2 separate regions of the Homo sapiens genome follow, and region 2 is linked to region 1. Evidence: promoter capture Hi-C in human tissues and cell types (Jung and others, 2019). All regions are on one chromosome and are shown on one strand. Each heading gives the region's core, a stretch centred on a gene start or on the middle of the fragment in contact. The rest is flanking DNA. Distances are from core to core; before and after follow the strand shown. Region 1 holds the start of NETO1 (neuropilin and tolloid like 1). Region 2 has its middle 55 kb from the start of NETO1-DT.

The links. The method cuts DNA at HindIII sites, captures the fragments that hold promoters and counts their contacts. A contact is called where the count stands out against the background at its distance.
Region 2: a fragment that was not itself captured here is called in contact with the fragment with the promoter of NETO1 in region 1 in 1 of the 25 tissues and cell types used here (adrenal gland).

What each region holds. Positions count from the first base shown.
Region 1 is chr18:72,866,737-72,869,436 of GRCh38, forward strand. NETO1 (neuropilin and tolloid like 1) reads right to left here and starts at 1,251. Exons shown (of 11, transcript NM_138966.5): 1 at 528-1,251. The coding sequence starts at 555. NETO1-DT (NETO1 divergent transcript) reads left to right here and starts at 1,652. Exons shown (of 2, transcript NR_134648.1): 1 at 1,652-1,726. The HindIII fragment of the contact is 16,969 bases long and covers 1-2,700 here.
Region 2 is chr18:72,922,342-72,925,041 of GRCh38, forward strand. No RefSeq gene overlaps it. Among named protein-coding and RNA genes, the nearest start is that of NETO1-DT, 55 kb to the left of the region's middle. The HindIII fragment of the contact is 6,337 bases long and covers 1-2,700 here.

The sequences.
Region 1 (2,700 bases), core at 1-2,500:
ACCACACACCCATAAAGCGACATCAGCGGTCTCCAGGGCGGAAAGGGGTGGAAGCTGACCCTCGCCCTTCCCTCCAGCGCTGGCTTCAGGTGTGCCTTCTGCTACCTCCTGTACTGCGAACAGGGGCCCGCCGAGCTCCGGGAGCCCCTAGAAGAGGAAGACTCCTCTGGCCCCACTAGGTATCATCCGCGCTCTCCCGCTTTCCACCTGCGCCCTCGCTTGGGCCAATCTCTGCCGCACGTGTCCATCCCTGAACTGCACGCTATCCTCCACCCCCGGGGGGTTCCTGCGCACTGAAAGACCGTTCTCCGGCAGGTTTTGGGATCCGGCGACGGCTGACCGCGCGCCGCCCCCACGCCCGGTTCCACGATGCTGCAATACAGAAAGTTTACGTCGGCCCCGACCCGCGCGGGACTGCAGGGTCCGCCGGAGCGCGGCGCAGAGGCTTTTCCTGCGCGTTCGGCCCCGGGAAAGGGGCGGGAGGGCTGGCTCCGGGAGCGCACGGGCGCGGCGGGGAGGGTACTCACTGTGAAGCACGCTGCGCCCATGGATCATGTCTGTGCGTTACACCAGAGGCTCCGGGCTCCACTAATTCCATTTAGAGACGGGAAGACTTCCAGTGGCGGGGGGAGGACAGGGTCGAGAGGTGTTAAAGACGCAAAGCAAGAAGGAAATAAAGGGGGGCCGAGAGGGAGACCGAGAGGAAGGGGGAGCTCCGAGCCCACGCTGCAGCCAGATCCGGATGAGTCCGTCCTCCGCCCCGGGCGGGCTCTCGCTCTCGCTGGCCCTCAGCGCCGCGCAGCCAGCAGCATCCCCACCGTGACGCTCGCATCACACCCGGGCGCCGGCCGCCACCATCCGCGCCGCCGCCGTCAGGACCCTCCTCCCGGGCATCGTCGCCGCCGCGGGGTCGGGAGGACGCGGCGCGCGGGAGGCGGCGGTCGCAGGGCGAGCCCCGGGACGCCCCGAGCCGGGGCCGGGGCCGGGGAGAGGGCGCAGCGAGGTGGGGGCCAGTCCAGACCGACGGCAGCGACGGAGCGGGCGGCGGCGGCGGCGCCGGCGGCGGCGGGGTGGCTCAGTCCCCAGTCTCAGACGCGCCGCGCAGCAGGTCGGAGCAGCCTCCCCGGGAGGATGTCCAGCGGCAGCGCTCCTCGCTCCAGCCCTTGGGGATCTTCCGCTGAGGCATTGAAGGCAGGAAGAAGGGGTCCGTCATCGGCTCGCCGGGCTGCGCGCCACCTCTGCTATCTTGCGGAAAGAGGAGCGGGTGGGTGGGCGTCTGGGAGGCGGGCTGGAGGGCGGTGCAGGGGAGCGGGGCGGCCGGGGGGGGGGCCGGGGGGCGGGGAAGGGAGGGAGGAGAAAGGAGCCGGAAGAGGGCAGAGTTACCAAATGGGCTCCTTAGTCATGGCTTGGGGCTCCACGACCCTCCTGGAAGCCCGGAGCCTGGGTGGGATAGCGAGGCTGCGCGCGGCCGGCGCCCCGGGGCTGGTGCGCGGCAGAATGGGGCCGCGGCGGCGGCAGCAAGGACATCCCAGCCGCGCGGATCTGGGGGAGGGGCGGGGAGGGGGTGAGGACCCGGCTGGGATCCGCGGCTCGGCCCGCCAGGGCGCAGAGAGAGGATGCAGCCGCAAATCCCGAGCCGGATCCTCGTGCCGGACGGAAGGCGTGGAAGCGGGAGGGGCCTTCGTGTGAAAATCCCTTGTGGGGTTTGGTGTTTCACTTTTTAAAGGTTAGACCTTGCGGGCTCTCTGCCTCCCACCCCTTCTTTTCCATCCGCGTAAAGGAACTGGGCGCCCCCTCTCCCTCCCTCCCTGGGGCGCAGGTTTCGCCGCGGACTCCGCGCTCAGCTTGGGAGACACGGCAGGGGCGCGCCCCAGGGAAAGGCGGCCGTAAAAGTTTCGCGGTTGAGCACTGGGCCTGATGTCCAGTCCCCCCACCAAATTACTCCTGCAAAGACGCGGGCTTCTTGCAATTGAGCCCCCCACCTCGAGGTATTTAAAACCACCCCAAGGCACACACGGACCCCCGTTCCCCCGCGCCACTTCCTCCTACAGGCTCGCGCGGCGCGTTAAAGTCTGGGAGACACGAGTTGCGGGGAAACAGCACCGGAAGAGCCCGGGCTTGTAAAATGCGAATCAATGAATACGAAATAAGGGCAACCGCGAGGCAGCGCCGGGAAGGGCTGGAGCGCGCGGGGGTGCAGGGAGTCCCTCCCTGGGCGCCGCAACGGCACCTCCTCCCTTTCCCGGCTCCGTCCCGCCCTCCCTCGGCCTCTGCGGACGCGACCCACGCAGACCACAGCCGAGCCCGCCGGACCCCGGGACTACGGAAGCCATCCCGTCCGGCCACCCACACCCGCGCCGCGGCTGGGGCTTGGGTTGGGGACTGTGGCGGCGAAGAAGCCGGGGTAGGAAGAGCTAATGGCAATGGCGGGGTCGCCGGGGGGCGGGGGGTCAGCAGCAGACGCTGAGCTGTGAAGACTAGGGTGGCCCCGAAAGGCCGAGGAAAGGAGAAAGGGCCATGAGAAGAGTCTGGCGAGCGCTCGAGGCCGGGGGGCTGCCTCCCGGCTCTGGCCCGGCCTCCGCTTCCCGGCACCTGCTGCTGGGGCGCCCACGTGCGCGCGGGGCTGCGCGGGGCGTTGGGTGCTCGTCGCAGTCCTGCCCACGCCTAGCGCAGCGGCTGTGAGTGGGTGGAGGTCTCCTG
Region 2 (2,700 bases), core at 26-2,525, 56 kb after region 1:
TTTTACATCCTAGAAGTAAATGATAAAATATTAAAATAAAGAGCCAAGGACAGAGCCCATCTGGATGACGCTCTTGCACATCAAACAGCAATCTTAGGGAATGCATATTTTTCTTGAAATATCCACTATCTGCTATTACTCAGCCATATATTGATGATATTTCAAGATGAAGGCATAGAAATATAAAGGCTCAGAGATCTGCTGCAGAGAAGACTCAGAAAAAATGGAAAGAATTTGAATTTAGCAGCTTTTTGCAGAAGAGTTGAGAGGGTACTGGGAAGTGAGATTTGTAGGAATTGATATAGGGTCTGAGTTAGACGTACAGAAATAATCCGTAGGAGCAAGAGAAATACCCCAAGGCTGCGGCAAACTCTGCATCATGCAGGAAAGGGATGCTTTCTGATTTTTTATAAGAAAAATGGAGTGTCCTCTTTGATAAGGAAATAGAGAAATTGTGAGATCTCATAGACTATCATCAAAGAAAAAAACCCAGGAAGAAAAGTGTATATTATAAGGCAAAACTCCAGTAATAAAAAATAAGGTATGCGAATTAGTCCATTTTCACACTACTATAAGGAAATATCTGAGACTAGGTAATTTATGAAGAAAAGAGGTTTAATTAACTCACTTTTCTGCAGGGTTAACAGGACTCACAACTGGATGGCCTCAGGGAACTTAAATCATGGGGAAAGGTGAAGGGGAAGCAAGCACTTCTTACCATGGCGGCAGCAGCAGAAGAGAGAGAGTGAGCAAAAGGGGAAGTGCCACACACTTTCAAACAACCAGTTCTCATGAGAACTTACTCACTATCATGAGAATAGCATGGAGGAAGTCTGCCCCCATTATTCAATCGCCTCCCACCAGGTCCCTTCCCTAACATGTGGGGATTACAATTCAAGATAAGATTTGGGTGGGGACACAGAGCCAAACTATGTCATTCCACCACTGGCCTCTCCCAAATATCATGTCCTTCTCACATTTCAAATCACAATCATGCCTTCCAAACAGTCCCCCAAAGTCTTAACTCACTCCAGAGTTAACCCCAAAGTCCAAGTCCAAAGTCTCATCTGAGACAAGGGAAGTCCCTTCCACCAATGAGCCTGTACAATCAAAAGCAAGTTAGTTACTTCCAAGATACAATGGGGGTACAGGGATTGGGTAAATATTCCCATTCCACATGTGAGAAATTGACCAAAACAAAGGGGCCATAGGCCCCAAGCAAGTCTCAAATCCAGCAGGGTACACAGTAAATCTTAAAATTTGAAAAAACTTTCCTTTGACTCCATGTCTCACATCCAGGGCATGGTGATGCATGGGATAGGCTCCAATGGCCTTGAGTATCTCCAGCCCTGTGACTCTGCCCCATGGCTACTTTCATGGGCTGGCATTGAGTGTCTGTGGCTTTTCCAGGCTCACAGTTCAAGCTGTTGGTAGATCTACCATTCTGGTGTCTAGAGGATGGTGGTCCGCTTCTCATAGCTTCACTAGGCAATGCCCCAGTGAGGACTCTGTGTGGGGACTTGAACCCCACACTTACCCTCTGCATTGCCCTAGCAGAAGTTCTCCATGAGGGCTCCACCACTGTAGCTGACTTTTGCCTGCAAATCCAGGTTTCAGAGGATGCAAATACATCCTCTGAAATCTAGGTGGAGGTTCAAAAACTCTTGCCTTCCAACACCTGGAGGCCCAACACCATGTGGAAGCCACCAAGACTCGGGGCTTGCACCCTTTGAAGCCACAGCCTGAGCTGCACCTTGACCCTTTTTAGCCATGGCTGGAGCTAGAATGGCTGGGATTCAGGGTGCCATGTCCTGAGGCTGCACAGAGCAGCAGGGCCTTAGGCCCTGCCCACAAGACCATTTTTCCCTCTTAGACCTCTGGGCCTGTGATGGGAGGGGCTGCTGTGATAATCTCTGACATTCCCTGAAGATATTTTCACTGTTGTCTTTGGGATTAACATTCAGCTTTTCTTTACTTATGCCAATTTCTGCAGCAGGCTTGAATTGCTCTCCAGAAAATGGGTTTTCTTTTCTACCACATGGTCAGGCTTCAAATTTTCCAAGCTTTTATGCTCTGCTTCCCTTTTAAACATAACTTCCAATTTCAGACCATCTCTTTGTTAATGCATATAGCTTTATGCACTTAGGAGCAGCCAGGCCAAATCTTGAACACTTTGCTGCTGAGAAATTTCTTTCATCAGATGTCATATATCATCAAAGTTCCACAGATCTCTAAGGCAGGGGGAAAATGCTGCCAGTCTCTGCATAGCAAGAACGATCTTTACTCCAATTCCCAATAAGTTTCTCATCTCCATCTGAGATCATCTCAATCTGGACTCCATTGTCCATATCACTATCAGCACTTTGGTACAAGTCTCTAGGAAGTTCCCAACTTTCTCACATCTTCCTGTCTTCTTTTGAATCCTTCAAACTGTTCCAACTTGTACCCATTACCCAGTTCCAAAGTCACTTCCACATTTTCTGGTATCTTTGTAGCAGTGCCCAACTCCTGCCACAAATTTTCTGTATTAGTCCATTTTCATACTGCTATTAAAGAACTACCTGAGACTGGATAATTTATGAAGAAAAGAGATTTTATTGGCTCATAGTTACACAGGCTTAACAGGAAGCATAACTGGGAGGCCTCAGGAAACTTACAATCATGTTGGAAGGCAAAGAGGAAGCAAGCACTTCTTATCAT